2 separate regions of the Homo sapiens genome follow, and region 1 is linked to region 2. The links are contacts of gene promoters, found by promoter capture Hi-C in human tissues and cell types (Jung and others, 2019). All regions are on one chromosome and are shown on one strand. The core of a region is centred on a gene start or on the middle of the fragment in contact, and the rest is flanking DNA. Distances in the headings are between cores, read along the strand shown. Region 1 has its middle 150 kb from the start of LINC01807. Region 2 holds the start of DNER (delta/notch like EGF repeat containing).

Region 1 (5,422 bases), core at 1,266-3,765, 1.3 Mb before region 2:
TTTATTTTGTCTGACTGAGTTATTTCAGAGAACCAGTCTTGAGCTATGTGATTCTTTCCTCAGCTTGATCCATTCTGGTATTAATTCTTGCAGTTATATTCTGAAATTTCTGAAGTGAGTTTTTCAACTCTATCAGATGAGTTTAGTTCATTCTAAAAATGATCTTTTCATCTTTCATCTCCTGTATTATATTATTGTATTCCTTAAAATACATTAATTTGGTTTCAACTTTCTCCTGAATCTTGATGATCTTCATTCCTATTCATATTCTGAATTCTATTTCTGCTATTTCAGACTGGTTAAGGATCATGTCTGGGCAACTAGTGCAGTTGTTTAGTGGTAAGAAGACACTCTGGCTTTTTGAGTTGCCAGAGTTCTTGCTTTGTTATTCCTCATCTTTGTGATCTCATGCTCCTTCAGTCTTTGATGTTGCTATCCTCTGAACGAGATTTTTTGGCTTTAATCTTCAATGCCCTTGGAAGTTTCATTGTGGTGTAGGTGGGTTTAGTCAACTGGCTTCATTTGTGGAGGATTTTAGGAGGCCAAGGCACAGGTTGGCACCCCTAAGTTGCATGCTGTACCTCTGGGGGACTGGTATTGGATGTCGAGCTTTGTTCTCTGGTCCCTCAAGGTTAGGAAACTGTGCATTGGAGGGGCTGATGTGTTCCAGGACTGCTGGCCACAACACTGTAACGAGTAGGGCCAGCCAAAGCATTGCATCAGGCAGTGGCACTAGGATCTGTGCTTGTTTGTTTGTGCCAGTAGCAGCAGCATGGTGGGGTGCTTGCTCATAGGCTGGGGTGGGGCACTGGTGGGCACAGGGTTGCTGGCCTCTATGCAGGCATTCACAGCAGTGGCAGCACAGAGGGTGAGAAGGGCTGCTGACCTCTATATGCATGCATTCACATTGGCAATGGTGGTATGGCTAGGAGCGGGGTGTACTCACACTAGCAACAGAAGCATGTTGGCATCCATGCACACACACATGCTGGCAGGTAAGGGGAGGCGAGGTCCACCTACATGCTCATGCTTCAGCAAAGCAATGGGGTAGGTGGGCATGGGCAAGTGTGTGCCAGCAAAGTGTCATGGGGGAGGTTGCCATAGGATTAGGGTGTGGATGGGCTTGTGTGTGTCAGTGGGAACCACTCTGCTAGAGCTCTCAAATGGTCAGGTGCAGTCTGCTAGTATAGGAGCTATGATGCAGGTCCCCAGGAGGCACCCTACTTGGGCACCTGAGGCTGTACCACAAACAGGCACAGTCAGGCTGGGGATCCAGGAGAAGCCAGCTTACAGGGGAGTGCTCAGGTCAAACTGGCCCCATCTCACATTCAAGATTTTCCTTCTCTGTTCAGGTATGACAGTTTCCCTAAGACTAGAGTCTTCTAAGGGAGCACGGGGAGCCTTGGAGGGTGAACATCCCTGACTGTGCTCCACTGCAAATATTCCAACACCAAACTCTGTGGGCTCTACACAGGCTGAAGTACTGCCGCTACCACCTCTCTAAGCAGCTTTCCCTGCCAGCTCAAGTGTCCCTGAGAATCATGAGTTCCCCTGCTGCCAGGATTCTAGATGTCTGAGGCAAGAGCAGGTCACTCCTTGCCTGCTCAACTCACCCCTTTCCCCAGAATTGTTGGGGGTCAGGAACGAGTCTCGGTGCGTGGTCACCTCATGCAGGGTTCCCAGCTTCCTCCCCTTTCAGCCCAGTGTCTGTATCTTCCATCTGTCCACTCTCAATGCCTTCACTCTGAATATCTCCTGGGAGATGCACCAGTCTTCCTGAAGTCCTTGTCCCTTGGTGGCAGATGTTTTTCCTGGCTCTGTCTAGTAGGCCATCTTGCCTTGGCTCTCCCTTCACCACTTTTGAAATGTTTTTTTTTTTTAAATCATTTGTAACTTTGGTCTTCAATCTCTTCTCCACCAGTAATTATTTAATAATCTGATATAGAAAATACTCTTTATAAGTATTACTTTTTATAGCGAAAATAACATAAAAATAATACACAGTTTGTGACCATTTGATAAAACATTAATAGTAGTACAGATAGAATCACAAAAGCTTGACAACCAATAAGCTCAATGACTATTTTGTGCTTTCAGTTCCCACTTGCACCTCATGCCCTGTAGACAGTCAGCTAAGGTTTCCTACTGTCTCATGCTGATTGAGTAACGTACAGTATGATGTTGTCACCATTGGACAACTCAAAACAGTCTTGCTGGAATAGTTTTTTTTTTTGTTTTTTTTTTTTTTTGAGACAGAGTCTGGCTCTGTCACCCGGGCTGGAGTGCAGTGGCATGATCTCAGCTCACTGCTACCTCTGCCTCCAGGGTTAAAGTGATTCTCCTGCCTCAGCCTCCTGAGTGGCTGGGATTACAGGCACATGCCACCACACCTGGCTAATTTTTGTATTTTTAGTAGAGACGGGGTTTCATCATGTTGATCAGGCTGGTCTTGAACTCATGTCCTCGTGATTCACCCACCTCGGCCTCCCAAAGTGCTGGGATTACAGGCGTAAGCCACCGCACCCGGCTGGAATAGTTTTTAATTAGTGGTTACATCTCTGTTTTTCCTACTTCATCACATGAGATTTGAATTACTGATATTTCAAAAGGTTGCATTATTTTCCTCAGGCAGATGTAATTGAATTATCCAAATAAATCTTCAATATCAAAATTTGTTGTTAATTATCTGGTTCTAGATTTTATTTTTGTTTTTGTTATTATTCTTATTATATATTTTTGCAAAGGGACTTTACAAACACGTGCTGATTCCTTATATTGTGGCCAGAACATCTCAACATGTAGAAACAGCCAAAACAATGACAGAAGTTAACGTTATTATTACTATGATGATGATGATTATTACTTATACTCATATATCTCCTTTCTTCTCACACTCATTTCAAGTTCCTTTGACTCCCCTCATACTCATTATTCATGCTGATGTAATCTACAGTTGACTGGGGGTAGGGAGACAACGTCTCCTTTCTCCCTTGCTTCTGCTTGTTGCCTAGGACCCCATTGTATACCTTGCAGAAAGCTGATGAGTGAAGGACACAGAGTAGATTCCCAAATATTAGAGCACCCTAAGAACAATAGTGTAAAACAGGTATCTCCATATTCTAATGAGACATTTTAGACCACAGTGTCCACCTGAGACATCCTATAAGACTATTAGATCTCGAGAACAGGTGCTTGTTTGACTGTGGATAACTGCCATCTCTTGTTCTCAGTTCAGAGCCTCATATAAAAAGAGAAGAGGCAAGGAATCACTAAACTTGCTGTCATTAATGTAAACCAAATACTCATCCAAATAACATATATGGTAAGGGTATAAAAACCTAAATTGTAATCTTACATAGTAAAGAGTTGAGTCAATATTTAATTCTAAAATAATAATAACTCTAAAGGCAGATTATTTAAAAACAGGGAGTTACATTCCATAGCAAACAGCTGGAATTTAAGTTTGAAGTTATTGACTGTTGCAGAGTATATCTCTGGGGCTATGAAGAGTAAGGCAGATAATGATTTTTTCATTAAAAGCCTTATTCAACTACTTGAATTTTTAAGCTATGTTCATGTTTAATTTGCTAAAAATAAAAATTAAGAATGAAGTCAAGTGGCCAGGTGTGGTGGCTCATAGCTGTAATTCCAGCACTTTGGGAGGCTGAGGTGGGTGGGTCACCTGAGGGTCAGCCTCGCCAACATGGTGAGACCCCATCTCTACTGAAAAAAAAAATTAGCCGAGCATGGTGGAGCATGCCTGTAGTCCCAGCTACTTCGGAGACTGAGGCATGAGTAAGCACCTCAGCAGGTAGTGTTTTTGTTTTTTGTTTTTGTCTGGTGGAGTAACTGGAACCTTTATTTCTGAAGGGTCTGGGCCATTTGTAGTCCACCTGGATTGGGCTGTTGTAGTTTCCCTTTGACCTTAATCACAGGACATGGTAATACTAAGAGATGTCCTAAGGGATCTCCTATATTCCACGCATACTCTTCCTTACCTCCACTGTGGATTAGTAGACCTACTTCGTCTTGATAGTCCATGCCAATCACCCCAGCCAACACTGTAACTCCCTTCTTAGCCTGTTCACTTGAAGGTAGGAGAAGCCCAAAGTGTCCAGGTGGCAATCTTAACTTCCAGTTTAATGGAATTGTTGTGTCTTCTCGTTGCAGCATTCCTCCCTCTGGGACTAAGACCTCTAGGCCAGCAGAACGTAATGTTGCAGGAACAGGAAGCAAAAATGTCGCTAGTGGATCATGAGGGGTGATGGTGAGTGGTGCCACTTCCACTTCCACCTCTTGATTCCTGGGCCCTCATGTTGCATTGGCATCACAAGGATTCTAAATTGGCAACATCCAGAGGTAGTAGCCTTGGTACACACATGAGCCTTTTGAAACTGTGCAGTGGTTAGTTTGGCTTCTCCATGTGAGCTTTTGAGCAGGAGTTGGTAAGTGAGAAAGCTGGATGAAAGATAAGTGGGAATTAAGTTGGGGGCTGGGGAGCAGCAAATAGAAGCTGCCTCTGGTTCTGTGGTTTTTTTTTTTAGGCCCAGTGAAAAAGATCTAGATGAAAATTTCAGGATGTTGAATTACTACTGTTAGGTAAGTTAGAGCAATCAAAATCATAAACATCTGGACTCCAATATTGGGACTGCCAAAGTTAGTCATGCATTCACAGTAGGTCCCTTCGATGTAATCCAAAATCCCTACATTCCACTGATGTCTGCCATCAAATGACTCTGATCCACAAGGTATTACCAGAGGCCCCCAAATTTTGGAAATTCCAATGCTAGCTTTTCTTCCCAACTGGTCAATACTGTTCCAGGCCCGTAACCAACGAAAGTATTACTAACTACCAATTAATAACCATACTCTTACTCATCTTTCTAGTTTCCATCAGCCCCTTTAAAAATCATTTCTTACAATAGCAATGGTGTTCATCATACACACACACACACAAACAAAATCTCCTGTTCAAAAAATCTCTGGTTGGCTTTACTATGTTGAACAATAAACAGTAGGCTTCTTACACTGCAATCCCAGGTCATACATGATAGAGGTCTGGTATACTCTCTCCCTTTCCTACCCACTGTCCCCAGTTCCCCTTTCCCACTTGAAGACTTTCTAATTGGATTACAGTTCTCCAGATAAAAGAGTGTGTGTGTGTGTGTGTGTGTGTGTGTGTGTGTGTGCAGCGAGATAGAGAGAAAGAAAGAGTGACTGATTTACTTTAAGGAATTGGCTTATGTGATTGTCAAGGCTGACAAGTCAAAAATCTGCAAGGTAGAATGGCAGGTTGAAGACCCAGGGGAAGAATTGATGTTGAAGCTCTAAGTCTAAAAGAGTCTGTTCGCAGAATCGCTTCTTCCTCAGGGAAACTTCATTTTTTTCTCTTAAGATTTTCAACTGGTTGGATGAGGCCCAC
Region 2 (4,998 bases), core at 2,261-4,760:
ACATAATGGGGCTCTCTGGGGAGAGCAGGCAGCTCCCAAATGGGTTTAAATGGCTTCTGAGAACAGGGAAAGGAGACTGGCTTGTGGGTTTTGCTGCATTTTGGGGTTGGGGCTGGAGTAGCACAGGGCAGGAGTTTGCATGGTTTGAACCTCCCACCAGCACCAAAGGAGGGAACCCCTGGGCTTTCTTATCAGCTTGTTTTGATGTGGAGGAAAAGAGGAAGGGGAGAGGTGAGGCTTTAAAGCTGTCAGCAGCAATCAGACATCAAGGAATGGAATCACTATCTTCATGAGGTAGGTCCCATAGATCCCATCGTTGAAGATGAGGAAATAAGACCCAGTAGTTTTAACTTCAGCTTGACTTCAAACCCACACGACCTACAATTCCCAAATCCTAGGAGTTTCCATGACTCAGGTGACAAAAGAAGCATGTCCTAGACCCCATTGACTTACGCAAACTCAATCAGCCAACCACAGAAAAGCTAAAGACATCCTTTTTTAAAAAAGCCTAAAGACAGCCATTTTAATCCTAATTCGTAGTTTATGATTTTCTCAAAATTTCCCCACACACAGAAAGAAACTTCAAGGTTAGGTTCTAATGTTACCATTGCTAACACTATTGTCTTTGGAGAAGGAGGAGTGACGCTCTGTTAAAAGATCCTCTTTACATCCAGGTAAAATTCCATTTCCAATTTATCCAGTGAGCACAAGGTTCTATTTCAGCAACCACATAGTCTGCAGTGGCTAAGATCCAATTTCCTTATCTGTAATTGAGTATGTGTAGTTTCTCTCTCCCTCTCTCCCCTCCCCTCCCCACCACCCCAGGTTTAACTTCTCTTCTGAAATTGTCTTTTGTGTTCTTTGCTGTTCCCATGAAAAATGAGTCTCAAGTCTTACTGCGAGATCATGAACGATTAAATTAAAATCATCAGGAATCCATTTTTATGGATTGTAAGGCCCTGAATCATCTCAGTAAGTTTTTCTGGGTAACCAAGTCCAATCAAGTTCCAAGTTCACTAAGCTTTCCTATGAGGATTACAGTAACTTCACCGCTCTCTCCAACTCACACACCAGGGCATGCAGTATTGCTTCTGCTCAGGTGGATGGTGTTCACACAGCTAAGCCTACCTCCAATGGGAGCTACAAAAGAAATCTGAATCTGTTTTGATCCAGTTGGTCCTGCAATGTTATGTATTAGTTCCTGACTCTTCGGAATGAATTATATTATACATCAAGTCACTACTTAGGACAAATCAAAATATTTATGTTTCGCTGTTAGTCATCTTTAGGTGGCACTAAAGAGCTCTTTTTCTTGAAGATGTCTTATATCTGTTTTTAGAGTCACCAAAAACCATCTCAGAGTTGTGTTAAATTCCCAGTGAGTCTTTCTTCTCATGTAAATCGATGGGCACTCTAACCTACCTTCTCCCATCCATTCCCACTAAACCCTAGGTCCAAATCAACTATTTCTTTGAAGGATAAAATTCAGACGTGTGAATATAACAGCAGTTTGATGGACACACTCAGACAATTCATTTCTTCAGGAAAAGTCATATAAATCATCAATCCACAGGGAAAATTAGCGTGAGTGCATTCCTTGGTTTTTGATTTGCAGTTATTTTGACTTTTGCAAAAGCAAGATTTTGTTCTAATGGTTAGAATGGCTCCAACAGGCATTTCCCCCAAGAAGCTATCATGTCCCAAATCTACTCCTGAGGCTCACATCACACAAATTCTTCCTCCTCCTCATCACCTCCCTTCAAGTAACTAAAGCTTATTGTAACCAGTAAACAAAGAGGAAGAGCACAGTGTTGAAAAGATAGATTCAGTTTGCTAATTTGCTATTAAATGAAATAAAAAGATTCTAGATAAATGCAAAAAAATCTGGCTGTCAAGGTCAAGTTTCTCAATCCCATTTACCTCTAAAAAATGTAAAACCTGTCATAATGAAAGGGCAGCCTTTTTCCCCATTGAAAGAACCTATTTGAGCATTCTCAAAGTAACTCTCCAATCATTGTTATCAAATTTATATGAAACAAACTCCTCCACCCTAAATGTAAGGAAGATAGTATCTGATCCCAAATATCGTCCATATTCATGTGGTTTAATGTAATCATTTCAGATAACTTCATTATTTGCCCTACCCTGCAATACAGGTTTGGGGATTTTCTACCCGTACACACAGTCCTACCAAATTGCCTACTGGAAATGTTGATGTTAATAGGTTTCACAGAGCTTTAACGGACTTGTAAAAGCCCCAGATATTATTTTCTGCCAAATTCTCCTGAAAACCCCAAATTCACGGGCGGCTGCTGGCTACATCCCATCGTCCCATCCCTCGCACCGCCCCCACGCTTTCTGGCGGCTTCCCGGTGCCCTGCTCACGCCCCGGCTGCCAGCCCCAAGCGTGCGCCCCGTGGAGCGTCCGGCAGGAAGGGCGGCCCTGCCAGCGCCACGTACAATGCCCCCTCGAATGCCTCCGACTGTTCCAACACTGCTCCTAAGCTTAGAGAGGGCTGGTCGCAGGCCGAGGGGAGGCAGCTGCCCTCCTCGTCCTCTGGCTGCTTTGTCACAGCCCTCAAGGGCGTAGGAAGAGAAGGAGAAAGTGCCCCACCACCTGGCACGGGGCCCACCATCACCTGCCTCCCACACCGCACACCCTTTACACACACAGGGTCCAGCCGGACGTGGAGCGTGGACCACCTGGACATTGAACACCTCGCCGGGGACGCTCGGAGCCGGCTCCTCCGCGCTGCCAAGGCGGGCACCGCTCAAGTGGTTCTTGGCTCGGCCCGGCCTGGAGGGGCGCGCCACTCAGTGGCCAACCGGAGCGTCTAGAGCCCCGCGCGAGAAGTGCCGAGCCCCGGAGCGGCACACCCCGAGAGCCCGGCTGGCCCCGCCCGGGAACCAGGGCGGGTAAGGGAATCAGGGTCGGCCCGGGGGTCCGCGTCCACGCGGGCCAAGAGACTGGATCCATCTTCTTCCCAAAGTGGGAAAGCCTGTGTCAGGCGTGCCCATTGTCGGGCAGCAGCAGCAGGGCCGGCGGGAAGAGGCTGCTGGTCCCGGACCAGCGCCCCGCACCGCGCCCGCCGCTTCCACTCACCTGGCAGTTGGCGCCGGAGATCCCGGCGGGGCAGGTGCAGCTGTAGCCAGGCTCGCCGGCGGGGGCCGGGTGCTGCGGGTCCGGCTCAGGGCGCGAGGTGCACACACCCCCATTCCGGCAGGGCTGCGCGGCGCACGGCCCGGGCGCAGACAGGGGCGCGGCGGGCACCGGGTTGGCCAGGGAGCTGCCTCGGGGCCCCGCTCCGAGCAGCAGCAGCAGCAGGGCCAGCGCGGGCAGCAGCTGCGCACCGGGCGCCTGGGCGCGGCGGGGCTGCATGGCCGGCCGGGAGGGCGCGGGAGCCGGAGCCAGGACGCAGTGACGGCGGCGGCGGTGGCAGTGGCGACGAGAGCTGCGAGAGCGACGGTGGCGGCTAGGGCTGCTCCGCCGGGCCGGGCGCCTCCTGCAGCTGCGGGATCCGCGGTTCCCCGGGCAACGGCGGGCGGGGCCTGCGGGGCGGGGCGGGGCGGGGCGAGCGGGGGGCGGGGCGCCTGGCGGCCCCGGCTCTGGAGCATCGGGGAGTGGGGCCTCTTTCCCCGCAGGGAGTTGGGATGGGGGTTGCAGGAAGACGATGCGGGACCCCATCCCCCAGGAGTGGGTCGAAGTCACGGGTGTGTCCAGAAGCAGCCCTGGTACAGGGAGCCAGGCGACGCTGGGGCAGGAAAGGGGCTGGAGAGGTCCACGAGTGAGGGAAGCGGGGCTTTGAGGGGCTTCCAGAGCCGGGAGCACCGAGTGCGCCCCAAGGCCCGGGCAGGGCAGGGCGCGGGAGGCGGCAGGGCGCCTCAAGGGAGGGGCGGCGCGCTCGCAGCAGCCACCTTTGGCCTCTTGGCGCAGAATCTGCGAGACCGCCGCGGGGCCCGGCCTTGCCTCATCCCCCGGGACTGCTCCCCTTCCCACAGCGCTTCTCCCGGCACCCCAAGCCCTCCCGCCCGGCCACGGAACCCTGCGCCCGACGCTTGCTCAGCAGCCGGGTTCGCCTGGAAGTGACCTCGCCTCCGCCAGGCGGACCCGGGGCCCTTGTCCTTGGTGCTGACCCAGCTGTCTCATTCTCGCCGGCCCTTTCCAGAGCGCGGGGCCTTGCCGCACCACTAAGGAACGTCTGGCCGCGCCGTGTGAGGCCGGGAAGAGGCCTTGGTGTAAGGCTGTCCACCCCTGTCGTTGAACCTAGGGGGAAACTGAGGCCCAGAAAGTCTGGATTCGAATCCAGTGGGTCAATTGACTCCCAGCCCAGAACGCCCGAAAGAACAGTTCAAAAGCCCAGGTTGGCAGAGGCGCTGCTAGCGGCAGGAATCGCAACAGGGGACTCTGCATAAAAGGAGCATTCGCTGTGACCTACTTCGGAGGGGATGGGGGGGGCGGGCTCTTCTACACGTCCTGGCTGGGCTGGCTGGTGCTGCGACCGCCAAGGAGGCTGCACTCCGCTGAATAAAGCGCATCCAGCCTTGTCTCCTCCACCTGACCTTTCACAATCTCTATTACCTGTGGGTTCCCAGGTACCTGTTACCTTCTTTTTAAGGTGGCCAAATGAAAAAAGAAAATGTGATTCCCCTGGATTGACAGTCTGGGCCAATTTTTTTTTTAGTAAACACAAAAATAGCTTGTTTTGTTTTTTAAAAAAATTAAAGTAAGGACTCCATGTGAACTTCTGCTGTAGGTGTCACAGACGCCAGGGATTGCTAAAAGTCCTCCAGTGGAAACAGAAGGCAAACTGCACGGCTTCTCCCTGTCCTGTTCAAACGCAGAAGCAAATGTCACACTTTTCTGCTTCAGGAGATACCTAAAATTCATGTGGCCATTGCAGGAAATCACTGAACCCCAGACAGATCTGCAAGCGGAGAATTCAGACCTCCAAGTGGATAGAGTTATTACATTTTTCCTCACACCTGCTGTCTTTCAAT

Evidence for each region. Contacts are between HindIII fragments. The study calls those that stand out against the background at their distance.
Region 1: a contact is called between a fragment that was not itself captured here and the fragment with the promoter of DNER in region 2, in 1 of the 25 tissues and cell types used here (mesenchymal stem cells).

Annotation. Positions count from the first base shown.
Region 1 is chr2:228,459,271-228,464,692 of GRCh38, forward strand. No RefSeq gene overlaps it. Among named protein-coding and RNA genes, the nearest start is that of LINC01807, 150 kb to the right of the region's middle. The HindIII fragment of the contact is 9,173 bases long and covers 1-5,422 here.
Region 2 is chr2:229,711,045-229,716,042 of GRCh38, forward strand. DNER (delta/notch like EGF repeat containing) reads right to left here and starts at 3,511. Exons shown (of 13, transcript NM_139072.4): 1 at 3,104-3,511. The coding sequence starts at 3,379. RefSeq lists silencers at 3,342-3,451, 3,522-3,581 and enhancers at 3,419-4,193, 4,194-4,967. The HindIII fragment of the contact is 6,115 bases long and covers 2,140-4,998 here.